7 separate regions of the Homo sapiens genome follow, and regions 1, 2, 3, 5, 6 and 7 are each linked to region 4. Evidence: promoter capture Hi-C in 16 types of primary human blood cells and fetal thymus (Javierre and others, 2016). All regions are on one chromosome and are shown on one strand. The core of a region is centred on a gene start or on the middle of the fragment in contact, and the rest is flanking DNA. Distances in the headings are between cores, read along the strand shown.

Evidence for each region. Contacts are between HindIII fragments. The CHiCAGO score rates a contact against its expected background, and 5 or more counts as called.
Region 1: a contact is called between a fragment that was not itself captured here and the fragment with the promoter of PSMA2 in region 4, in 1 of 17 cell types (endothelial precursors). The highest score is 5.1, in endothelial precursors.
Region 2: a contact is called between a fragment that was not itself captured here and the fragment with the promoter of PSMA2 in region 4, in 6 of 17 cell types (naive CD4 T cells, total CD4 T cells, total CD8 T cells and 3 more). The highest score is 13.1, in naive CD4 T cells.
Region 3: a fragment that was not itself captured here is called in contact with the fragment with the promoter of PSMA2 in region 4 in 2 of 17 cell types (non-activated CD4 T cells and naive CD4 T cells); the score reaches 6.4 in non-activated CD4 T cells.
Region 5: a fragment that was not itself captured here is called in contact with the fragment with the promoter of PSMA2 in region 4 in 2 of 17 cell types (non-activated CD4 T cells and total CD4 T cells); the score reaches 7.8 in non-activated CD4 T cells.
Region 6: a contact is called between a fragment that was not itself captured here and the fragment with the promoter of PSMA2 in region 4, in 2 of 17 cell types (total CD8 T cells and non-activated CD4 T cells). The highest score is 9.1, in total CD8 T cells.
Region 7: the fragment with the promoter of MRPS24 here is called in contact with the fragment with the promoter of PSMA2 in region 4 in 10 of 17 cell types (naive CD8 T cells, total CD4 T cells, naive CD4 T cells and 7 more); the score reaches 21.2 in naive CD8 T cells.

Annotation. Positions count from the first base shown.
Region 1 is chr7:41,978,849-41,982,491 of GRCh38, reverse strand. All of the region lies in intron 10 of GLI3 (GLI family zinc finger 3), which reads left to right. Among named protein-coding and RNA genes, the nearest start is that of GLI3, 260 kb to the left of the region's middle. The HindIII fragment of the contact is 731 bases long and covers 1,207-1,937 here.
Region 2 is chr7:43,845,121-43,848,424 of GRCh38, reverse strand. No RefSeq gene overlaps it. Among named protein-coding and RNA genes, the nearest start is that of MRPS24, 23 kb to the left of the region's middle. The HindIII fragment of the contact is 2,656 bases long and covers 694-3,304 here.
Region 3 is chr7:43,801,835-43,805,513 of GRCh38, reverse strand. It overlaps BLVRA (biliverdin reductase A), which reads right to left. Exons shown (of 8, transcript NM_000712.4): 7 at 1,667-1,838. Among named protein-coding and RNA genes, the nearest start is that of BLVRA, 45 kb to the right of the region's middle. The HindIII fragment of the contact is 6,752 bases long and covers 1-3,679 here.
Region 4 is chr7:42,930,654-42,934,200 of GRCh38, reverse strand. PSMA2 (proteasome 20S subunit alpha 2) reads left to right here and starts at 2,027. Exons shown (of 8, transcript NM_002787.5): 1 at 2,027-2,083. The coding sequence starts at 2,043. MRPL32 (mitochondrial ribosomal protein L32) reads right to left here and starts at 1,825. Exons shown (of 3, transcript NM_031903.3): 1 at 1,685-1,825. The coding sequence starts at 1,814. RefSeq lists an enhancer at 1,647-1,876. The HindIII fragment of the contact is 5,414 bases long and covers 1,727-3,547 here.
Region 5 is chr7:43,905,361-43,908,958 of GRCh38, reverse strand. It overlaps URGCP-MRPS24 (URGCP-MRPS24 readthrough), which reads left to right and starts at 2,363. Exons shown (of 7, transcript NM_001204871.2): 1 at 2,363-2,397. The coding sequence starts at 2,384. URGCP (upregulator of cell proliferation) reads left to right here and starts at 2,363. Exons shown (of 6, transcript NM_001077663.3): 1 at 2,363-2,397. The coding sequence starts at 2,384. RefSeq lists silencers at 1,938-2,097, 2,158-2,587. The HindIII fragment of the contact is 3,554 bases long and covers 193-3,598 here.
Region 6 is chr7:43,929,504-43,933,266 of GRCh38, reverse strand. All of the region lies in intron 1 of UBE2D4 (ubiquitin conjugating enzyme E2 D4), which reads right to left. Among named protein-coding and RNA genes, the nearest start is that of UBE2D4, 4.9 kb to the right of the region's middle. The HindIII fragment of the contact is 5,962 bases long and covers 1-3,763 here.
Region 7 is chr7:43,867,883-43,871,376 of GRCh38, reverse strand. It overlaps MRPS24 (mitochondrial ribosomal protein S24), which reads left to right and starts at 1,860. Exons shown (of 4, transcript NM_032014.3): 1 at 1,860-1,920; 2 at 2,001-2,069; 3 at 2,303-2,414. The coding sequence starts at 1,882. It overlaps URGCP-MRPS24 (URGCP-MRPS24 readthrough), which reads left to right. Exons shown (of 7, transcript NM_001204871.2): 5 at 2,001-2,069; 6 at 2,303-2,414. The coding sequence ends at 2,391. It overlaps LOC124901620 (a long non-coding RNA gene), which reads right to left and starts at 1,731. Exons shown (of 2, transcript XR_007060296.1): 1 at 543-1,731; 2 at 1-429. RefSeq lists an enhancer at 1,379-1,498 and silencers at 1,729-1,788, 2,089-2,148. The HindIII fragment of the contact is 8,402 bases long and covers 1-3,494 here.

The DNA of each region.
Region 1 (3,643 bases), core at 323-2,822, 950 kb after region 4:
CCTGACTCAGCCTCCCAAAATATGGGGATTACAGGTGTGAGCCACCATGCCTGGCCCAATGCAGCTTTTTAAAGGAAAGTAAATATTTAGAACACATGCACATGTTAAGTCTGTGAGTTCTTAGAATTTTAATTTTCACTTGAAATCTAGTTCTAGGAAATATGTTAAGCTTAAAATACATTTGAACTGCTTAAACAGGCAGAGAGATGCCTCCCTTTTTCCTTATAGCAATTGATTACATCCTCTGTGCAGCATTTAAGCAGTAAAGAAGAGGAAGATTGACTTGGTTCCCCAGCCTCCTAGGTGTAGAATTTCATTTAAAGAAAAATAACTGTGGTCTCAATGCAAGTTTGAACTTAAGAGCAGTTCCAGAAAATTGCAAAAATATATTAGTTGGGACTCGGGTCTAAGGGATTGGAAAGGGAACATTCCCAAGATGCTAACCTTATGAAAATGAGGTTGCTTTAAGTGCCCAACATAAGTTTCCCCCACCCCTCCCCACATGGAGACAACAGCAAGGGTGTTCATGCTTGCTGACTGGTGTGGGATTTCCTGCCACTCAAATTTCCACACATTGTCTCAGTGGCAAAGGTAGAAGAAGCTGGGTGCGGTATAAATAGGAAATGATTGGGATTTTTCCAGGCACTGCCCTCCTCCGCTGGTTGCCAGTTCTCCCTTCTCTGCTCAGTGCCGGATCCCTCAACACCATTGTAGGCAGATTCTATACCTTCCCCGTCACTTTGGATAACTAAAGTGTCCAATTTAAACGTCCAATCTCAGGTCCAATCCAGAGCCTTCCCTTCCCTGTCAGCAGCGAGGCACAGGCCTCAAGGGAACTGGCAGGCTGTTTGCCCTCCCTTTGCCACCTCACCTAAAGGAGCTGGGGCCTGGGAGTGCTGCCAGGAGATGCCTTCCCTTTCTTTCTAGGGTCCAGCTCCTCCAGTGTGTTGGATGAGACAGGAAAGGAAAATATGAGAGTCCCTTTTTTTACTGGCCACTGTTGGCACCTCCTTCTTAGCCACCCCTGCTCCCTTGAGTAGCACCAGGTTTCCCTGATGCCCTCCTCTTCAGGGGCAGACATGCAAGCCTGGCTTTCCCCTGGGGTGTATGTGAGTTTTATGCAGGGGTATTTCCCACATCCTCACTGCTGGAGACATGACTGAGCACACAGCATTTTAGGTGAGCCCTGGCAAGCTAACCCAAGCTTACCTACGTCATGGATGTCCACTTGACCCACAGAAAACTCATGCCTTCTCGCCATGCCAAGTGGTGGCAGTCTCTCCCTGGCCAGTTCTCTCCTGCCATGCGTGGCCCTCACGCTGTTCCTCAAAGGCACCAGGCTCTGTTCTTCTGCAGGTACTTCTGTGTCATCGGTCCGCTGTAGTGTCCCATTCTCCTACCCCATCCTTCCCTGCACACCTGATGTGTCTACTCATCCTTCAGGTCCTGCTCTAAATGCTGCTTCATTGGAGAAGCGGACCCTGATTCCTGATGCTGCACACTGACTTATGATCCCATTACATGTTTTTATAAAACCCTGTTATCTCCCTTCATAATGCCTATCACAACTGTAATTGTATAGTAATTTAAGCCATGACCTGTTTCCCTCTGGTAGACTTAATTCCTTGGGGCAAGAATCATGTCTGTCATGTTCTCCAGCACAGGGCCTGGTGTGAGTGGCACCCAGCACATCCTCATAAAAGCATGAGAGAGAACAGGGAACTAATAAGACATGGATCCAACCTTAAGCAGTTGGCTCAGCACAAATTATAATTCAGTTTCCCAATTTTACCTTTTCCTTTCTCCCTCCTGTGTTCCTTCCTTATTCTTCCCTTTCCTTCTGTCTCCCTCACTCTCTGCTTGCCTTCCTTGCTTCCTCCCTCCCTTCCTTCCTTTTTTCTTTCCCTTTCATATGCATTAATCCAAGGATCCAAGCTTTATTTCCAATGACTTGGAAAACTGAACCAAGAGCAACTGTTAGGGAGTGTTTTTGTATGATCATTTCTTTTTCTCCCGTTTGAGAATCCATAGAACCCCTCTGTAAGATGTGAGCTTGGTTTCCAAGGCTGGGCTTCAGCACACATTTGGGAAAGCCCTGGTCTTGTGTATGGGCTACAAAGACTTACTAGAAGCAGACGTGCGGATTGAACGTTGACCCCTGTCCAGAACATCTGTTCTCTTCCTATACCTGTGTGCATCATCATAACTTTAAAGAAACACTGACATGGAGCATGGCTGGCTTTTCATAGGAAACCCACATCTGTTTGCCGTGGGGTTGCTCCCCAACCACTGCAGTTTCTGTGTCATTTTTGGAGCTACTGACGGGACATTGGCTCTCTTCTTGTGTGCTGCAATGTACCACTCTCTCTCTGCTCTTCATCAGATTTTTCTGGGAACTGCTCCAAGGAGAGGAGATAGAGAACAACAATTTCTTTTCTCTGTCCTCACCCAGTTTTAAACTCCAGAAACAGCATAGAAAACTTTACTTTTGTAAAACTTTTTTTTACCTAAAGCGAAAGGCCATCTAGTGGAGTAACTGGGAAAGGCACACTCTGAGGGCAGAACTTCACCTTCAGACTCACAGCGACCACCGCTTTAGGAGCCCTGGACTCAGCAGGAAAGTAATGAGAGGTTGTGTCACTACCACACGAGGCATGGAGCCAAAGGGAGCTTTCTCTTATTGAACGAAGTTTTTTGGTGATGTAGTTCTATGTATACTTCAGAAAGTGTTCCCACAAGCCTTAAATTAAGGCAAATAAAATGTAGAATCACCAGAAAATAAAGACCAACAGCATCAACCTAGGATGCAAATGTCTTCAGTAGTCCATAGCTGGACATTGAAATAGTATGCTCAACCTGTTGAAATTGACCTTAATTTGATTCAAATTAAGAAGCTTCTCTTCCTCTCATGCTGCAGTAGGTTTCTAATGATTCCTAATTGTATTAATCCAAGAAATTAAATGATTCTAAAACCATGAATTGGTAAGTAATTCAGAGAACTTCATCTTTATGTTAAAAACTGTATTAATAGAATTTTAGAGCTAGAAAGTCCCTTAGCAACTAGTGAATCCAGTCATTTATTTTCTACAAGAAGAAAACCAAGGCCCTGAAAGACTAACTTATTTGTTGATGACCACACAGTCCTCTTCCTCAGTATAATTCTTTTCTCTGCAATTCTTATTCAGGAAGCAGTCTGATTAACCCTGAGCTAAAGTTTCATTTGCAAGTGCTTTTGGTTTTTTTGTTCTGGAATTGTGCATGTCTGTGTGTGCCTTCCCTTTTTGAAGCCTAAGCCGCGGTGCTAACCCATGGCCCAGCATGTGAGAGTTGGAGAACATCTCTGCAGTTGTTTAGCCTCAATCGCCAGCCTTGGCAAGGAAAAATGACAGAGATTCAGAAAGGTCAACAGTGGCTCACCTCATTTCATAACTAGCTGGTCCCAAACCTGGAATTGAACTCTGCTCTTCAGATGGCCAGTGTACTGTAGTATATTTCCTGGAATGCCAGGCTCCATCCCGGTCTTGCCACTCCCACTGGTTAGGAAGCATGCATACACAGTTAGCAAAAGCAAATTTACTTGAGAAGTGTACTAACTGGAATTTTTATAATCTGTAATATGGTAAAGTTATTCTTGTGGTCTTTA
Region 2 (3,304 bases), core at 772-3,271, 910 kb before region 4:
CTGGAAGACAGAATTAATGGCCACAATGGGAAGGGAGATCAGAAATACCTCATTATACCCCCTCCCTTACTAATAGCTATTAGGTTTTATTCTGTAAGGACTAAACAGAAACCATCTCTTTCAAATACTACTAGCTTATCTTCCCAGGTACATAACAAAGACAAGATAAAAGTAATTCTTCATTCCTCCCCGAGCCCCCCTGCTTCATCTGTTCCCTTTAGCTTCAAATGTTCACCTTATCTTATGTAAAATGTAGATTTATTGGGTATTAACAAAAGCCTCACAAACATGTAATTATTTGTCTCACTGCTGCCTCCCCAGCCTTTTTTTTTTTTTTTTCTGAGGCAAGGTCTCACTCTGTTACCCAGGTTGTAGTGCAGTGGCTCACTGAAACCTCTGCCCCTCCAGGCTCAAGCTATTCTCCCACCTCAGCCTCCCAAGTAGCTGGTGACCACAGGTGTCCACTACCACGCCCAGCTAAGTTTCTTTCTTTTTTTTTTTTTGTAGAGATGGAGTTCTGCTACGTTGCCTAGGCTGGTCTTGAACTCTTGGGCTCAAGTGATCAGTCCATCTCAGCCTCCGTAAGTGCTGGGATTACAGGCATGAGCCACCACTCCTGGCGCACCCCCCAACCTTTTTAAAGGAAAATGTATAAATAATAAACCTCTTTGGGAAAATACAGTCACAGAAGCTTCTGTGACTCCTGTTTTCCCAGGCATACCCTCTACTTGGCTGAATAAACTTTGATGATTCACGACTTAGGTCTAAATCACTCATTTTGGTGGTCAACTGTCAGCTCACAACAGTCCTTAAAACTTAACAATTTCCTCTTGTGAGCCGGTATAAGCTAGCCTCAGCACTCCACTCCACAAAATTATTTACTTTCATCATTTGTCCATATGACAAGCAATGAAATGTCTGGCAAAGATTTCCAAATATAAGCAAACATTTTATATGTATATATATATTTTAAAAGTATATCTTAATATACATTTATATATTTATATACTATAATATATAAGTATTATAAATATATGTATTTATATAAATATAATATATAATATGATATTTATATTATAAATATATATATATATATTTTTTTTCTTTTTGAGATGGAGTCTTGCTCTGTCACCCAGGCTGGAGTGCAGTGGTACAATCTCTGCTCACTGGAACCTCCACCTCCCGGGTTCAAGCGATTCTCCTGCCTCAGTCTCCTGAGTAGCTGGGATTACAGACGTTCACCACCACGCCCAGCTAATTTTTTGTATTTTTAGTAGAGACAGAGTTTCACCATGTTGGCCAGGCTGGTCTCCACCTCCTGGGCTCAAGTGATCTGCCTGCCTCGGCCTTCCAAAGTGCTGGGATTACAGGTGTGAGACACTGCGCCTGACCACAAACACATATTTACTTTATTTTATTTATTTATTTTTTTGAGATGACTCTGTTGCCCAGGCTGGAGTGCAGTGGCACTATCTCAGCAACCCCTGCCTCCCAAGCCCAAGTGATCCTCCCACCTCAGCCTCCCAAGTAGCTGGGACTACAGTCACACATCACTGGGCCTGGCTAATTTTTGTATTTTGTGTAGAGACAGGGTTTCACCATGTTGCCCAGGATGGTCTCAAATTTCTGGACTCAAGCAATCAGCCCACATTGGCCTCCCAAAGTGTTGGGATCACAGACACAAGCCACTGTGCCCAGCCTGCAAATATATATTTAAATAGATTCTAGGCTTGTGTTTGAAAAGAGGAGTAAGAGCAGACCTCACCAGCCCATCTGGCCTCTTGTTTCCAGTGGTCAGCATCTGAGAAGTGAGCAGAGGCCTTTCTCCCATGCCTCCTCCTGGATGTCCCATGGGCACCACCTCCACATGCTAGTTTCAAGCACAGGCTACCCTGGTGAACAGACCACATTTGGAAATGCATATGTTTCTGTTTGTTTTCTGGCCCAGAGCCCATTCGGTAAGCTGAGTTTTTAGTGTCCCCATTAAGGACAGTGACAACAGTGACAGAAGCTCATTCACTGTCAGTGGCAGCCTTGACTTTAGGGCCCCAGGGGCTGTCCTCCCTTTATCCTGCCTGGCTCAGAAGATGCCCACAATGGTTTATCAGTGAGTCCAAAAGCATGGCCCCAGCCCCCAGGTGGGCTGCCTGGATTCTGCTTTGGGTCATGGGCCTATATCTTCCTACCCTCAATCTGCTGTCTTTTCACCCAGAGCACAGTTGCCAGAGCCCCAGAGGGTGTGCATGGCTCAGAGATTGGCATCCCCAGCAGGCAATGGCGTCAGGGTGGGGGCTGGCTGGTTTTGAGAGAGTGGAAAGAGTTTCCAAGTCAGACTGATCTGGACGGGGGTCACTGGCCCACCAAGTCACTTTCCTTCTACAAACTATTGTGAAGATGATAATGTTATAGCTCAATGGGTTCTTCTTACCTGCTGCACAGATAAAGCCAATGCATTGAGATAGTGGCATTGGAGCAGAGAAAGAGTTTGATTATCACAAGGCAGCTGAGTGGAAAGACAGAAGGTATTTCTCAAATTGGTCTCCCTGAGAATTTGGAGGCTAGGGTTTTTAAGGACTTCTTTCACGGGCAGGGGGCCAGAGAGTGAGAAATCCTGATTGGCTGGGTCAGGGATAAAATCATAGGAACTTAATTCCTGGTGGGGGGTCAGTGGTCTTAGTGGCATCAGTTGTTCCACCGGAATGCAAAGCCTGAAAAATATCTCAAACACCAGTCTTAGGTCTTACAATAGCAATGTTATCAATAGGGGCAATTAGGTACATTACAAATTATAAATCTTGTGACCACTGGCTACATGACTCCTGAGCAGTAAGCAAGTTACAAAACATGACTAGTTGTCATTTATTTAATTTAATTTTTTTTTGTTTTGAGACAGGGTTTCACTCTGTTGCCCAGGCAAGAGTGCAATGGCACAATCATAGTTCACTGAAGCCTCGACCTTCTGGGCTCAAGCAATCCTCCCACCTCAGCCTTCTGGGTAGCTGGGACTACGGGTGCATGCCACCACACCTATCTAATTTTTTGTATTTTCTGTAGAGATACGGTCTAGGCTGGTCTCAAACTCCTAGGGTCAAGCGATCCACCTGCCTTGGCCTCCCAAAGTGTTGGGATTACAGGCATACCCACCTTGCCTGGCTTGCCTAGTTATCATTTATCTATGCATAGGTCTTAGCAGAATTCAGACCCCTCCTATAATTCTAACTTTGTGGTCTTTTATTAGTTTTACAAAGGCGACATCCATCCCCAGACAAGTAGGGGGGTAGTTTTGGGAAGGTACCATTGCTAT
Region 3 (3,679 bases), core at 609-3,108, 870 kb before region 4:
GTCAGGAGTTCAAGACCATCCTGACCAACATGGTGAAACCTTGTCTCTACTAACAATACAAAAATGAGCCGGGCGTGGTGGCAGGCGCCTATAATCCCAGCTACTCGGGAGGCTGAGGCAGGACAATCACTTGAACCCGGGAGATGGAGGTTGCAGTGAGCTGAGATCACACCACCGCACTCCAGCCTGGGTGACAGAGCAAGACTTTGTCTCATAAAAAAAAAAAAAAAAGAGAGAGAGAGTCAGCCTCTGCCTCCCCAACATCTTGCTTCCTCATTGACTTCTACTCAACTTCAAGACCAAACAAGGCACCGCCTCCCATCAGAACCATGAGCTGACCTAGTCCAGGTTCCCCTTCCCTGTGCTCCTACAGCACCCTACAGTATCTTTACCTCTAATTACAGGGTGCTACAACTGTCTGTGTATAGGTCTGACCACGGCTGCAATCCTAACACTCACATGGCCACACCAGAGCCCGGGCCACCACTGTTGGTCACTCCATAGGGAGCACTGCCAAGTTCCATGTGCTTTGCTTTCATCTGCCAGGCCTCTCTGCCTTTTCCTAGCGAAGAAGAAACTCCTCAAAATGGACTAGATCAGGCTTCATTCAGGAACTCAAATTCTTTTTTCTTTTTAAAATACCCAGTGTCTGCTTCTTTTACTACCAGGAGACCCACCTCTCTGCAAAGGCATCCAGAAACACTCTAAAACCCTTACTGTTCTAAATAATTTACAGAGCCCAGGTGCTTTGGGAGGAAAATTATGAATGTGCTTTTGTTAAAAAAGACCTGGTATGAGAAATAAGTCAGAATGTTTTGGGAACAGTGTGACAGGGTGATGGGATGCTAAAGCTGAAACACAGACCCTCACACTCTGGCTGCACTGAGGGGTGAATGTGTGGCCCTGCGGGGAACATGTACAGTGTTAATGGCAGGGTCTAGGGAGTAGGTGGATGGGTGTTTACTTAAAAATTCTTTCAACTTCACAATATGCCCGAAAACTTTCATAAGAAAACACAGGAAAAAAATCAGGTCACAGAGTTAACATAATTTCTTTTTCTTTTCTTTTTTTTCAAGAAGGAGTCTCGCTCTGTTGCCCAGGCTGAAATGCAGTGGCCTGATCTCAGCTCACTGCAACCTCTGCCTCCCAGGTTCAAGCAATTCTCCTGCCTCAGCCTGCCAAGGAGCTGGGACTGCAGGCATGCACCGCCACACCGGCTAATTTTTGCATTTTTAGTAGAGACAGGGTTTCACCATGTTAGCCAGGCTGGTCTCAAACTCCTGACCTCAGGTGATCCACCACCCTTGGCCTCCCCAAGTGCTGGGATTATAGGCCTGAGCCACCACGCCCAGCCAAGGTAATGTAATTTCCACTACTAATCTGCTATGAATGACTTGCATGACTTAGGCAACCTGCTGGCATTCTGTAAGCCTCTGTCTACTGACTGGCAGATGGGATTATGTTTGTCTTCTTTACCTCACAGGGCTGCTGAGAGGATGAGATGAGGCAACACAAGTGCAATCTCAGCACTCCATCTGCAGAAGCAGACAGCCCTTCTGGAGCTGGGAGTGAGGGTCTAGCCCCTCGGGGCTCCCTTTGGATCATACCTGCAAATGTACTAGGATGTCCTTAAATTTCCTCCTCCTCATGGCTTCTCATGACTTACCTTTTCTTCTCTGTCTCCAGACACACTGTCATTTTCATATACTGATCTTCCTTTCGCTCTTCCAAAGTGGCAGACACAAGAGAAAGCTCCCCAAAGAGGGAGACCAGCCAGGTCAGGCGAGAGATGCCGCTGAATGCAGGGAAGCCAAACCGCTCTTCTTCCAACGGGCCAGCTGTGGGAAATCACAAATGCTGTGGGAACTGGGAAGCAGGAATGCCAAGTGGAAAGCAGGACAGGGGGGTGGGGGTGGCGGGGGTGTGAAAAGATGTGGCCGAGTGATCAGTACAATGGGACCTTGCCTTATGTGGTAGGCAGGCAACGTGATTAATGATACTGATGAAAACTCAGGTGGCTGAACTTCAACTCTATCATAAAAGCATCTCTGTCTTTTCCTGTTTATTAAATTGAGTTTTAGTAAAACATTCTACTGGAAACAGCAGTCAATCCAGCCAAACAGGATAATAAAAAAGTTTCAGGCTTCTAATATATACATCTATGTACACATATGTAGATATACATACACACACACACACACACAACACATACCTACATATACATATATATATATCCTCTTTAGTGATTTAAAGTAGTCTGGTAAAAGTAGAAGAATCAAAGTATTTTAGCCCTGCAAGCCTGTATTCTTATAACTACCTGATGTGTAAGTGGCAATAAGGTATGAAGGTATTATAATAGCTATGGAGAAAATGGTAATACCTTTGAGCTATTTCAATATCAAGAAAATTGATACAATGTTAAATGTTTTCTTAGTCTTCCTAATCTTGTGAACAAAAAAGTACACTCAAAAGAGTATTGGGGCCAGGCGTGGTGGCTCACGCCTGTAGTCCCAGCACTTTGGGAGGCCAAGGTGGGTGGATCACTTGAGTTCGAGACTAGCCTGGCCAACATGGCAAAACCCCGTCTCTAGTAAAAAAAAATACAAAAATTACCCGGGCATAGTGACGGGTGCCTGTAACCCCAGCTACTTGGGAGGCTGAGGCAGGAGAATCACTTTAGCCCGGGAGGCAGAGGTTGCAGTAAGCCTAAAAAGGCCACGTACAGTAGCTCATGCCTATAATACCAGCACTTCGGGAGGCCAAGGCTGGCAGACTGCTTGCGCCCAGGAGTTCAAGACCAGCCTAGGCAACATAGCAAGACTCTGTCTCTACAAAAAAACACACAAAATTAGGCGGGTGTCGTGGTGCACACCTGCAGCCCCAGCTACTCAGGAAGCTAAGGTGGGAGGATCATCTGGGCCTGAGGAGTTCGAGGTTACAGTGAGCCATAATTGTACCACTGCATTCCAGCCTGGGTGACAGAGTGATACCCTATATCAAAAAAATATATATATATAAACATAAAAAAGAGTATTGGTGTGAGAAATCCATTTGGTCAAGATACTGCTCCCGTCTGCCTCCAGCCAAAATCTTAAACATAACCTAAGTTTAAAAGACTTCATATCTGTTACATTACATTATAAACAAAACATTTCTTATGACCTTGATATTCACTTAAAACAATGACTAATAACAATGAGTATATTCTTAAAAAGTAATAAGTTATATATAAAACCAAACAAAAATTAGAATTTTCATAGACAATATGGTTTGAAATCACTGGGGCCTAAGTATCAAACTTACAAAACAAAAAGACTTCCCCAGGGCTGGTTACTGTCTGCTCTAGTTCTTTTTTGTTTGTTTGTTTGTTTGTTTTTGAGACAGAGTCTCGTTGTCACCTAGGCTGTGCAGTGGTGCGATCTCGGCTCACTACAACCTCTGCCTCCTGGGTTAAAGCGATTTTCTTGCCTCAGCCTTTCAAGTAGCTGAAATTACAGGTGCGTGCCACCATGCCCGACTAATTTTTGTATTTTTTTTTTTTAGTAGAGACGGTGTTTCACCATGTTGGCCAGACTGGTCTCAAACTCCTGACCTCAGGTGATCCACCAGCCTCAGCTTCCCCAAGTGCTGGAATTACAGGCGTGAGCCACTATGCCCAGCCTAGTTCTTTGGACAGAAT
Region 4 (3,547 bases), core at 778-3,277:
CGCCTCCCTGGTTCAAGTGATTCTCCTGCCTCAGCCTCCCAAGTAGCTGGGATTACAGGTGTGCACCACCACGCCTGGTTAATTTTGTATTTTTAGTAGAGACAGGGTTTCACAATGTTGGCCAGGCTGGTCTTGAACTCCTGACCTTAGGTGATGGACCCACCTTGGCCTCCCAAAGTGCTGAGATTACAGGTGTGAGCCACCGCGCCCAGCCCACATACTTCTTTTGATCTTAAGAACTCTTAAAAATACACAAAGTTCTCTAACACTTAACAACTGGCATTTATTTTCAGTATGTCCACAAGTATTGCCAAGCATGCCCCGGTGATTAACAACACAGGCTCAGGACTGTCTGTGAACTTGGGACCATTGTGAGCCTACTGTTTCAGTTGGAAAGTGTATACACCTAATGGGACTGTTGTCAAGATTATCCCAGGAAGTACATGTAGAAAGCTTGGCACATTGCTTGGCATATAGTGGCATATATTTTCTTGGTATATTTCTGGATATTATCACTTTCAGGCTGCTTAGAAATTGAGTAGAATGTAAATGCCAAAGCCATGACAGTTTCAACATCCAAGATACTTCCAATTAAAATTAATTCCAAGTGAAACATGGGAAACAGAATTCAGCTCCTCAGAGCTCAAACACCACAGAAAACATGTACTGCGCGGGAGGGAGGGAGGAAGGGAGGAAAGAAGGGAGGGAAGGGAAGGGAAGAGGAGAGGGGGGAGAGGGGAAGCGGGAGGGGAGGTGAGGGCAGGGCTGGAAAGGAAAGACAGATCCAGAGAGTGGTGAGCCTTGATGCCAAGTGAGACCTGCAGAACTGTCCTCTCAGGACAACTCTGTACAAATCCCTGAACTCCACAGACTTGACCAAACTCTAGCATAGTTTCTAGCAGCATAAGGCTGTATCCTAGGATGACCTCGGCCCCCCCTTTAAAGTGCCTGCCTGAGAAAGCTCAACGCTGCCTGGAAAATTTCCTATTTATTTTGGCCAACATACCCCGATAGTAGGTCCCGAACTCCCTTAGAGCATTTCCTGGAAAGGGCATATAATTGTAAATACGTATCCCTTGCAACTAACTCGGAAGCTTTTCTTTCAAGGCCCTGAGAGCCATTCCTTCGAAATCTAATCATTAGGAAGGATAGGGCCTTTGTCTCCCAGTCTCTGCGGGAGGATAGAATTCTCCCTAAGACAACTGCGAGCTAGCAGACACAGCCGGCTAATCACATTTGCACTGACTTCACTATACTACACTTCTCTGACTCTACAGAGCCCCTACACTCCCGCCTCGCTCATTCTCCCTTTAAAACGCCCAAAGTCACCTCTGCACAAACCGGGATGGAGCTCAGCTCTTTACCTGCAGTAGTTACTGAATAAAATCTGTTTTCAGCGCTTTACTTACTGGCTGGCTATGATTTATCTTTGACACAAGCTTGGGTTACATTCTGTGTACGAATGGAACAAGCAGAGGAATTTTTTTTTTTTTTTTTTTGCGGTGGAGGGAGCGCAAAAACAGTCGTTCTGTTCTCGCTAATATGGGAATGTCACGAACTACGTCCCCGACATGAGGCCGCGGATCAGAACCGGGGCTGAGGGCGAACTGTGTAAGCTGCGTCTGCTACGCTGCCCGAGGTCCCGTCATCAGCCCCCTCTCCCACGGAGCCCTTCTTTACCTACCCCACGGAGGACTGGGAAAGCCCGGCCGGCTCTGCGGAAGCTTCCGTAGCAGTCGCTCCCAGTAGTTTCGAAGCACTCCCCGGGCCGCAGACCACGGCGAAACCACCAAGACCAGCATGGCCAGCGCCATTTTCCCTGCTGGAAGACCGCCCCGGTCCCGCCCCTGCTTTCAGCATGCGCACAGGCACAGAATCGGGCAAGCCTCGCTTCTTAGAACTACAACACCCCGCATGCTCTTGGAGCAGCTCTGACTCTCCTCCAATCATAGAGAGTAAAGGAAAGGTGAGGGGCGGGGAAATGAAAGGAAATCGGCCACAGTGCGCATGTGTGCGGCTGTGCTTTGGCTCTTCGGGTAAAGATGGCGGAGCGCGGGTACAGCTTTTCGCTGACTACATTCAGGTATGGAAGGGGCCCTCGAGGTCTTCAGCGTAGTCGAGGTTGCTGGTACTCTGTCGATTTAGTTTTTCCCATCCTGACGTCGGCATTGGTGCTTCTGGAGGGTCCAGTAGGGAATGGAGTTGGAAATGCGGCTTTGCAAAGTCATTTGCCAGGCCGACCCGGGATTCCTGGAGCTTCCTTGGTCGGAGGCTGCTGGAGGGTCGGGGGGATGCGGTTTTGCGGGGTTAACATGGGGCTGCGGGACGGTGAGGCACATAGCCAAGGATTCGCTTTCACTTTGGAGACCAGAAAAGAAGGCAGTTTTAGCTTAACCATCTCTGGGTGGCCCGTTCCGAACTCAGGATTTTTTTCCTGGCTCAAGTAGACCTGATGCGGTGGTTTCTGAAACTTGGAATCTTGGTCAAATATGTGGGGTTCCCTTTTCTTGGAAAACTCTCAGCTTTACAGTTAAGTCGGAGTCTTGGTCTCCATTTGGCACTAGTGTCTTTCAAAACCTCCCGCTTTCGGTTTCTTCGATGCACGAATTAGAAACATAAGGACTAAAAACCGAAAGCCCCTATCACTTTTTTGTGAACCCCTAACAACGAGGCAAGTTTGAGTTTTGGTCTTTTTTTGGTGGACTGGGGGGAACGTCGGGGAGGGGGATGTTTACTTTAAACAAGATTGTAGGTTTTTCTATTGTAGAAAAGGGGATTAGAATAATAAGTTTACTTTCCAAAATACAGTTGGGGCGAACCATGGCTCTCAACGTGAGAAAACCATCGCCGAAGACTTTTAAAAATTGACTGGGGAAGTTTTCTGACTTACCCATTTTCTTAAGGATCAGTAATGCCCAGTTTACTTAAAATGTACTCCTGACAACTGAAGGCAGGCGGGATCTAACTTGTTGAGTACTTTGTTAGGTGCAACTTAACCTTAACCTGCTCCATCTCTTTCCACTGCTATAATGAATGTTATCTCAGCTTCTTACAGATGAACTAACCGCAGCTTGTACAAATTAAACAACTTGTCTAAGGTCATCGGTGAGTAGCTGAGTTGACATTCAAACTGGGTTTTTTTTCTGATAACAAAAATACACTTTCCATTACATAACGTTGTCTTAAATTCCAAAAGTACTTTTCTCTTGGCAGTTTTCAGTAAGCAGTGGGTGTATGTAATAGTTTTTTTGTAACCTTTGAACGAGATTAATTTAATTATGCAATAAAAGGTCTCATTATATTACATATGACAGAATAGTGTGTGCAGGATGTATTCACTGTTCCTATTTATGAAGAAAACAAATGTGGTCCTTTTTTTAGGGACAGGGACTTGGCAGCCTCCAGCTCTTGGGCTCAAGGGATCCTCCTGCCTCAGTCTCTGGAGTAGCTGGGACTAGAGGTGTGCACCACCCTGCCTGCTAATTTTTTTTTTTAAGGCATGAGGTCTTGCGATGTTGCCCAGGCTGCAAATGTGGTCTTTTATCGC
Region 5 (3,598 bases), core at 720-3,219, 970 kb before region 4:
ATATAGTGGGATGCTAAAATTCATGTTAAGTGTACGGGCCACGGGAAAGTTTCTCCTTGCCCTCTGAAGATTTACTGAAAAATCAACTCACAAAAAGCAGATTAATTGAAGAAAAGGCATACAAATTTTATGAATGTGTGCACAGGGAGAATTACAGAATGATTTCCCACCACCCAACAAGGTTCAGAAGCTTGTAGACCATCTTGGCAAAACAACTTACAGGAGGGGAGAAAGAGGAATTCTTTCAAGGGGCAATAAAGGATTACTAGGGAGAAGGAATGGATCAGGGCACAGAGATTAACTTGTACGCTATCCTATGAAAGGGTCTTTTCAGGTGTGGTTACATTCTTGGTCTTACAGGGAGGGCAAGAAAAACAGTTGTTCTCCTTGGAGGGTCTGGACTTTAAGCAGATAAAGACATTTTCTGTTTTGGGAGAAACCAGTGGGGAGGGAGATCAGAGAGACCTTGAGACTTCTTCAGTTCAGCTTGTTAAAGTGCCATATTTTGGGGTTATTGGTTTCTGAACCAGATTTTATGTCAGTAAACATGTATTCCTTATGTTTAAAAGAATGCTTATTTAGGCCAGGCATGGTGGCTCACGCCTGTAACCCCAGCACTTTGGGAGGCTGAGGCAGGCAGATCACCTGAGGTTGGGAGTTTGAGACCAGCCTGACCAACATGGGGAAACCCTGTCTCTACTAAAAATAGAAGAATTAGCCAGGTGTGGTAGTGGGCGCCTGTAGTCCCAGCTACTGGGAGGCTGAGGCAGAATTGCTTGAACCCGGGAAGTGGAGGTTGCAGTGAGCCAAGATCTCGCCATTGCACTCTGGCCTGGGTGACAGGGCAAGACCCTGTCTCAAACAAACAAAGAAAAAATTCTTTTAGTTTGATCTCCTTCATTTCATTACTCCCTTGAATCAGGCATTTAGGATTTAGGATTTCCCATTCCTCAAACTCTTCCTAACTCTGGTCCTCCTGGATTTGTCCTTATTTTGGGTGTCACAAGTTCGCGTGGCTTTACCTATCAGCTCCCATTTACAGAGCATTAATTATCTTCTGAACTCAAGGTAGCAGTTATGAATTTCTTTACCGAAGAGGACAAGGAGGCTCAGAAACATTGACTGGATTCTCCCAGGAGGAAAAGAGACCATGCATCACGCAATGTTTACTAACATTTAAAAATAGTTACAAATGTTTACAAATATTAATTCATTTAATCTTCACAGAGAGGAAGGGACTTATTTTTAGCCTTATTTTTCAAATAAGGAACTGTGGCCCTGGAAAGGTTCTATCTTGCAGGGGCTCCTGGGGCTGGTAATTGGTGGAGCCCAGATTCCAACACAGGTATTCTGGCTTCAGAGCTAAGGTTTTAATCACTGCTTTGCTGTCTTGTATTCTTAATAGTAGTAAACATTTTTAAATAGTGGTTGTTAATGATATTTTACTTTTAACTTTAATTTTATTTTTAAAAATGAAACGGGCGGGGCGGGCAGGGGGTCATCTCAATATGTTGCCCAGGCTGATCTCAAACTCCTGGGCTCAATCGATCCTCCTGCCTCGGCCTCCCAAAGTGGTGGGATTACAGACGTGAGCCACTGCGTTCGGCCAGTGATATTTAATATAATACTAAAAATGTTATCAACAATGGTTTACATTGTCCAGAGCTTTTTATTAAGCATTTTCACTTAGATCATTTTTGGAAACTCATTTTGCAGAGAGAAGAACTGAAGCTGAAAAATCTACCTGCCTAAGGACTCATAACTTGTAAGAATAGTTGTGAAACCTCACTGGAGGAACTGCAGATTCATTATTTTTCTTAATAACACACTATAAAGAATAATAAAAGTGCTTCGCATTGCCTAGAGCTTCACAAGGCCACTTTATACACATTTTACAATGGGTACCGTCTCAGAGAGGCCAGCAACTCGTCCAACACAGCACTGCAAGTAAGAAGTAGGAAAGTTATTGTTTTGCTTAATAATAAGGCCTTACGCTTCAGGGCTAAAGAAAAGCCTTTTCTTACAGAAATTAAACTCCAATTACAGAAAGGTGTGAAGTTCAGTAAGGCCCTGGGGCAGGTTATCCTACAGCTTTTGGCACCGCAGGCACCGCCCGGCGAGTTCCGGCCTCCAGGCACCTGGGCAGGTGGGCGTTGGGCGGGCTGCGGGCTGACCTGGGCCGCCCCGCCCCCACCCCGCCCCAGCTGTCCCCGGGCTGCTCCGAGAGGACCCCGGGCCCACCTTACCCCACCTCACCCCACCTCCACCCCTGGAGCGCGTCCCGGAGCGGGCGGGCGGCCGGCGGGCCAGGCCCCTCCCCGGCGCCGAGCCGCGGCCGCGCGGAGGAAGCGAAGGAGGCGGGAGCGGAGACCTCGCTGCGCTCATGGCGTCGCCCGGGTGAGTGCCGCCTCGCAGGCCCTGCGCCCCCGCGGCTGCCGGCAGGAACGGGAGCGGGACCCGGAGCGGCTCTGGCCTGCGGGCTCTGGTCTGGGATGCGGCCCGGACCCGGCCAGGGGCGCCCCCGCCCGCCAGGCCCACCAGGCCCACGGCCCGCTCGCGCCGACCTTGGGCGGACCGGCCGCGCGGGCGTGGGGGGCGGGCGGGGGCGCCGGCGGAGGACAGCGGTCCCCCGGGATGCGGGGGTCCGGGTACGCGGGCCTAGGGGATCCGGGGAGGGCGCGAGGCCCGGAGGTGCCCGGGGCGCGGCGGGAGCGAGGGCCCGGCGAGCGGCTGGGGAACCGGGGTGCGGGTCCTCGCCGCGGCCCGGGGCAACCCGCGGAGGCCTGGAAATGCTTCGCTCCGGCGCCTGGTATCGATGTTCCTGGGTTTTAAACTTGCTCGCGTTGGGAGTGGACGCTTGTTTGCCGCGTCGTTGAGACGTACCCAGAATGTCAGGATCCGGGCAGATGCAGACCCTTTGCTGACAGCCGGAGAGCCGCTCCGGGATCTCCTTGGTCGGGGCCATTGCCTACCGGCCTGCCTTGGGGTGGCTGCGCTTATTTTGATATTACCTCTTTTCAACTTTTTTGATTTAAATGTTATTCCTTTTAGGAAATGATGGCGACACATATAGTTTGTAATTTTTGAGAAAAAATTCTCACTTGGCAAACTAAAACCTCAGTAATTCATTATTTTTTTGTTTTTTGTTTTGATAATTTTACTAGTACTGAAATTTGGGAATGACAGTCCAACACTTTCATTTTACAAAGAAAGAAATTAGGCTCAAGGTCATCGCTTTAGTTGTTAAAATTCTTCTTTGACTGTTACCCATCATTCAGAGGGTCTTGGATCTAGTGGCTGTGATAGCCATTCAGAACAGTTCCCAAAGAGCTTTACAGGTGTGTGTTCAGTGGTAGGGGTGGGGAGGGGACGGTGCTAAGGGGCCGGGATCATGGATTTCGTGCCTCCTCCAGATGAGGCCTGAGCCATGCCCTGGGGTGATTTGGCTCAGTACAGTGGGCCTGAATGAAGCAAGCTGAATTTGAACCCCGCCTGCTGTCTTTCTAGGCTTTGGGGCAGTGGTCATTTCCGGGACCAGGCCTTTTCATTGCCAGCTGACTACCCAGCACTTTGAGCTCATGAATAGAGTAAGCAGGGA
Region 6 (3,763 bases), core at 973-3,472, 1.0 Mb before region 4:
ACTACATGACAACAATCTGAAACACATACACATCAAAGGCACTGAAAAGAAATCCACAAAAATGTTAACTACAATTACATGAATAGGTAGAATATATATATATATACACCCACACATATATATGTACGTATATGTATATACACACATATAAGTATATATGTTATATATATACACACATACATATGTGTATATATATGTGTGTATATATGTTATATATATACACACATACATATGTGTATATATATGTGTGTGTATATATATATATATATATATATATATATACTTTAACATTTGTTGCCCCCAGGAGGGGAACTGGATGGCACACATTCCAGCAAGAAAAAGTGACCCCACTTTAGATGACTAGAGATGAGTTTTTTAAAAACTGAATTTTGGGGGCATTTTCCAAATTTTCTTTAATTTTCTTTTTTTCTATTATTATTTTTTTATTATGTATTTTATTTTTATTATTTTTTTGAGACAGGATTTCGCTCTGTCACCCAGGTTGGAGTGCCGTGGCGCCATCTTGGTTCACTGCAACCTCCATCTCCTGGGTTCAAGCGATTCTTATGCCTCAGCCTCCCGAGTAGCTGAGATTACAGGCACCTACTAATATGCCCGGCTAATGTTTGTATATTTAGGAGAGACAGGGTTTTGCCATGTTGGCCAGGCTTGTCTCAAACTCCTGGCCTCAAGTGATCCATCCACCTCGGCCTCCCAAAGTGCTGAGATTACAGGCGTGAGCCACCCTGCTTAGCCAGGTATTTTCCAAATTTTCTTTAAAGTACATGTATTGCAAAATATATGTGTTAAATATGTATTGATATAGTTTGGATCTGTGTTCCCACACAAAACTCTTGTCAAATTGTAATCTCCAACGTTGAGGGTGGGGCCTGGTGGGAAGTGATTGGTTTAGTACAATCCACTTGGTATTATCCTCTTCTCACAAGATCTGGTTGTTTCAAAGTATGTCATGGGCCAGGCACAGTGGCTCACTTTGTGCCTGTAATCCCAGCACTTTGGGAGGCCAAGGCGGGTGGATCACGAGGTCAGGAGATCGAGACCATCCTGGCTAACATGGTGAAACCCCGTCTCTCCTAAAAATACAAAAAATTAGCTGGGTGTGGTGGCAGGCGCCTGTAGTCCCAGCTACTCAGGGAGGTTGAGGCTGGAGAATGGTGTGAACCTGGGAGGCAGAGCTTGCAGTGAGCCGAGATCGTGCCACTGCACTCCAGCCTGGGCGACAGAGCAAGACTCTGTCTCAAAAAAAAAAGTGTGTCATGGCCAGGCACAGTGGCTCATGCCTGTAATCCCAGCACTTTGGGAGGCCCAAGTGGGTGGATCGCTTGAGCTCAGGAGTTCAAGACCAGCCTGGCAACATGGCAAAACCCCGTCTCTACTAAAAATACAAAAAAAAGTAGCCAGGCATGGTGGCACACACTACTCCAGAGGCTGACACAGGAGAATCAGTTGAACCAGAGAGACGGAGGCTGCAGTGATCAGAAATTGCACCACTGCACTCCAGCCTGGGTGACAGAGACCCTGTCTCAAAAATAAATAAATAAATAAATAAAAGTGTGGAGCACCTCCCCTTGTTCTCTCTCTTGCTCCTGTTCTGGCCATGTGACATGCCTGCTCTGCCACCCCCCCCGCCCCCCCACCCCGGTTTGCCTTCCACAGTGAGTGTGAGTTTCCCCTCCTCTGAAGCAGAGCAGACACTAGTGCCATACTTCCTGTACAGCCTGCGGAACTGTGAGCCAATTAAAACTCTTCTTCCTAAATTACCTCATCTCAGGTTTTCTGTTTTGTTTGTTTGTTTGTTTTTTAAGATACGGTCTTACTCTGTCACCCAGGTTGGAGTGCAGTGGCACGATATCGGCTCACTGCAACCTCCACCTCTGTCTGGCTCAAGCGATCCTTCCACCTCAGCCACCTGAGTAGCTGGGACCATAGGCACATGCCAAGAACCATGCCTGTCTAATTTTTTCTATTTTTGGTAGAGCTGGGGTTTTGCCATGTTGCCCAGGCTGGTCTTGAACTCCTGAGCTCAGGCCATCCACCTGCCTTAGCCTCCCAAAGTGCTAGGATTACAGGCATGGGCCACCTCATCCAGCCTTCAGGTATTTCTTTTTTTCTTTTTTTTTTTTTTGAGACAGAGTCTCACTCTATCACCCAGGCTGGAGTGTAGTGGCATGATCGCTCACTGAAACCTCTGCCTCCCGGGTTCAAGCAAGTCTCCTGCCTCAGCCTTCCAAGTAGCCAGGATTACAGGCACATGCCACCATACCCAGCTAATTTTTGTATTTTTAGTGGATATGGGGTTTCACCATGTTGACCAGGACCTAACCTCAGATGATCTGCCCGCCTCAGCCTCCCAAAATGCTGGGATTACAGACATGAGCCACTGTGCCTGGCCAGGTATTTCCTAACAGCAATGCAAGAATGGACTAATACACGTATCAAAGAGAAAAAAAACCATTAAAAAATTGAAATGCTGCCACATATAACCCTGTCCTGGTTGAGAACAGTGGCTCACACCTGTAATCCCAGCACTTTAGGAGGCTGAGGTGGGAGGATTACATGAGCCTAGGAGTTTGAGACCAGCCTGGGCAACATGGTGAAATCCACTCTCTACAAAAAATTTTAAATTAGCCAGATGTGGTGGCAGGCACCTGTAATCCCAGCTACTGGGAAAGCTAAGTGGGAGGACTGCTTGAGCCCAGGAGGTCAAGGCTGCAGTGAGCTATGATTGAGCCACTGCACTACAGCCTAGGTAACAGAGCAAGACCCTGTCTCAAAAAACTAACTAACTAACTAACTAACTAAAAAGTGCATCTAAAAATATTCAATTTGAAACATTCATTTGAAAACATTTTTTTAAAGGGTTGAAGTTGGTTAGAAAGGGCTGTGGATTGGAAACTAAGGGGGCAGCTAGTAGACACCACACACCTGGCTCAGGCTTGCATACTGCTGGCTACCTGCTCAGCACCCATCCGCCTTCCTCCTTTCTGAAGGACTGCTGTTCAGTTCTGGTCAACTCACTGTCAGCTCCAGGTCTAAGAGTAACCAGACTCCTTGCCACTCATTGGTTTCGGAATGAGCATGAGACATAATTCATAACAAGGCAAAGGGAAAAAAAGATCTGCTGGGCTTTCTGAGAATATTCTTATCAGTTCTTCTGGAAGCAGTTGTCTCTATTACTCCCAGATGTCCAGCAGGCTGTGTGTTCCAGAGCCATTCAGCCCAGAGTGACACAGGAACAGACCAGGAGAGGGGGACTGAGTTGCTCCCAAAGTCCTGCCACAGGACCTCCAATTCCATGCACAAGGGCAGCTCAGCCTCTGTCACTTGCAGCCAAGACATCCTAACTAGTGGTGGCCCAATGGTGCCATCTCACCACGGCAGGCTTGACACACTTTTAAAGTTGTATTTCCTACAATTCTGTTGTTTTTCCCCAGGAATTGCTACAGAATTTGCAGGGCCTTGTGAATGTGAAAATGTAGGGTCTCAAGTTCGATAATTATTAAGAATTTCCTGATAGTGACAGCAGAGCATAAAACCAAAGGCAGAGCCCATCCAAGCCTGGGGCCCTGTGAGAGTGAATGCGTCACACACACATGAAGCCAGCCCTGACCTTGATTCTTGTTTTGCTTTTGTTTTAAGACAGGGTCTCACTCTGGTTGCCCAGGCTGGAGTGCAGTGGTGAGGCTCACTGCAGCCTTGACCTCCTGGGCTCAGGTGATTCTCCCACCTTAGCCTCCTAAGT
Region 7 (3,494 bases), core at 611-3,110, 940 kb before region 4:
TTCCCAACCACAGCCTTCGTGGTGTGGCCCCTGCCCACCTTGGGCCCCAATAGGTGTTGTGCCATTGCCACCTCTGCCTCTGATCAGCCCAAGGATCTTGTTTCCCTTTCTCCTTCCCCTTTCCTCTGATTAGGGTGGTGTTGCTATGAGTTCTCACAGAACCCTCAATAGCTGGCTCATCTCCCTAACGGGATATGTGGCTATCAGGGACTCGTTAAAAACAACAACAAAACCCACAACTGCTCTCTCCCTCTGCCAGGCACATCATACTGTACTTCTCACAACCACCATTATTGTCCCCAGTTTACAGATGAGAGAAACCGAGGCTCAGAAGGTTCAGTCACTTGTCCAAATTACACAGCCAGGAAGCATTGGGTCCACGATTTGGACTCAGGCAATTCAGATGCCACATCCCATGTTCCTCACCACCTTGGAGCAAATTAATGAAACTTAACAATTATAAAATTATTGAACATTATGAAAACTTTAAAAAATAATTGTCAGTTGAAAAGGATTTCTTAGGAAATGTTGAAAGTTCTTACATTTGCAAAGTATGCATTGGAGGGCACCTCATCCCTGTTCTGTCCCTTTATTCAATATGCATAACAGTTGGGGGCCGCAGTTCCTAAAAAGTAAGAATAAAACATTTCTGGTGAAGTGGACATGGAAGACCTTGTCCTTTTATTACGGGTTTTTTGAGAACCCACCTTCATGTAATCAGAGGAATCTTGGTCATGGGAAATGGGCTGGACTGAAGTCAAGAGACTTGTGTCTTGGTCCCTCTTTCCCTCTTCTCAGTGTGGTCATGGGCAACTCATTTCCACCGTTCTTCCATTTCCCCTTCCCATGGATCATAATCCAGTCCTCCCCCTGACAGGAAACCGCAGCAGTATGCAAGTACTGTACCATTAAGGGGAATGATGTAGACCCAGAACGGCCAAAACATTGGCAATTTCACATCACTCAACCAAACACAACCCATCATTGATTAAATATTCTCTTGATCCTAATAGCTCTATAAGGTAGTACTATTATTAAGGCCCATTTTATAGATAATAGAACTGAGTCTTAACTGTACAAAGATTGTTATACATGGGTCTGACTCCAGAGCCCGTGTTTTTTCCATGACCGTGGTGACTTCTAAAATAAAATATCCCGCGTTGCTATTTTTCCGTTTGACATTAATAATTACTGGATACCAATAATAGTGGCGACGCACTGGTTTCAGCATTACAGGCCCTGCGATATTCTCACGAATCTCCTTGCCCTCCGGCCCCTTCCCCGTACTTAAAATTTTCCTTCCTCAGGGGCCAGTCACCACTGTGGTCACATGTGGCAAACCCATTCTTGCATAACTGCGTAAGTCATCCTTGAAGAATTGGGTGACGTTTTAACCAAAATATGTTTCTTCTTTATTTGTGGATAAAAGTCTGGAGGGTTTTTCTGTTTTGTTTTTCTACGAATATTATTTGGAGGCATAACTAGGACCTGGGGAAACGCTTGGCTCCTCTTCGAGCCCCGAGGGTGCAGGTTGGGCAGGGCGGGCTCCGGTGGGCCGCACACCCATCACCCGTACTAGCGTGAGGTTGTCGAAGAGAAAATCTCACGTTTCGCATCCTCAAATTTCCGGATCTGAAACCCTATGCAAGCAGCAACCGCGGGAGAGCGAACAGCGGCGGGATGAGCATTCACAAGGCTGAGCATTCACAGGGCTGCGGGGAAGGCGGGAGTAACAGCTAGCAGCATACCGCGGCCCCGCCCCGCAGAGGCCCTGCCCCGCCCCCGCCAGAGTACAGAGTACGAGCTCCGACTTGGTCTCGTCCGCGGTCGTCCCCACCCCTCAGCGCGCTGTGGTACGTCCCGCGCTCCGCTTGGCCCAAGATGGCGGCCTCCGTGTGCAGCGGGTTGCTGGGGCCACGGGTGAGTGGGGCGACTCGGCAGGTCCCTGCGAGTCGGAGGTGGGGTCCCTAGTTTCCGCCTCACGCGCCCTCCCTCCACAGGTGCTGTCCTGGAGCCGAGAGCTGCCTTGCGCTTGGCGCGCCCTGCACACCTCCCCGGTCTGCGCCAAGGTGAGCACCGCCGGGGCAGGGGCCTGGGGGCCTGGGGGCCGGGGGGCCGGGGGCCGGGGAAGCCGTGCGGGCTGAAGGGGGCGTGTCGCTGGGGTCCGAGGCGGGGCTAGGGTCGGGGCTTAGGGATCAGGGGATTGGGGCCGGGGAACAGTGCCAGCTGACTGGGGGGACATGGCGCGAAGTAGGGGTCTGGATCGGGGATCTCGTGGAGTCACGGCCCCTTTTGCTCCTAGAACCGGGCGGCCCGAGTACGCGTAAGCAAGGGGGACAAGCCGGTGACCTACGAGGAGGCACACGCGCCGCACTACATCGCCCACCGTAAAGGCTGGCTGTCGCTGCACACAGGTGAGCGGACCCCAGGCCTCCAAAAGGAGCACTCAATCCGACTGTCATGTAAACAAAATGAACACGTGTCACAGGTTTTCTTTAACTCAGGAAATAATGCTAGGGTCAGAAATCTATGAAACCAACTCAAGGGAGACATAAAAAAGCAGAGATATATATAGATCAGGATGTTGAAACAAATTTGAAGATGGATGCAAAACTGACTTTTTCCATGGCAGGCAGGGACTCAATTGATCCTCCACTGAACAGAAATTATTTGCATGTCTACAGACAAGAATTATTTTGCATTCCTGTCAGTTATCTGTAATTTACAGAGCTGTAAAATAGCTCAGAGTCAAGGAAAGGAGTGAAACCGTTGCAGAATCTGATAACCCTGAACAGTGTGCTCTAAGGAATGCAGTTTTCCACTAAAGCACAAATTTTTCTCTGTAAATATATACAGACAACCCTCGTTATTCATGAATTCCATATTTTCAGATTCTTCTACTGACTAAAATTTATTTGTAAGCCCCAAATCAACACTCTGGGCACTCTCAAGGTCACTCTGAGATGTGGGTGGAGCTGCCACCCCAGGTGCATGTCCCGAGCTGAGGTCGACAAGGCTCTGCCTAGTTTCAGCTCTCGTACTGTAAAAGGTGTCCTTTTTATGGTCTAGAATCTTTTTTTTTTAATTTGCATTTTCGTGCTTTTTGTTAGTGATTTTGCTGTTTAAAATGGCCTTGCAATGCTGAAGTGCTATCTAGTGTTCCTAAGCGGGAGAAGGCTGTGACGTGCCTTAGGGAGAACATACATGTATTAGAGAATCTTTCTTCAGTCATGAGTTGCTCTTGGCCCTGAATTCAATGTTAGTGAATCTACCATATATATTAAACAAGGTGTCTTTAAACAGAAACACAAAGGAAACTAGGTTATGTATTGATTTGTTAACAAAAATACGGTGCCCAGAGGCTGAAAGGAATCTAACCCTGTATTTCACCTAGGAGCAATGGTTCAGTATTCACTAAGTCAGTGTTGGCAGTGACTTTATAGAATATAACTATTGTGAACAATTGATAACCAACTGTGCTTTGTTTAGTACAG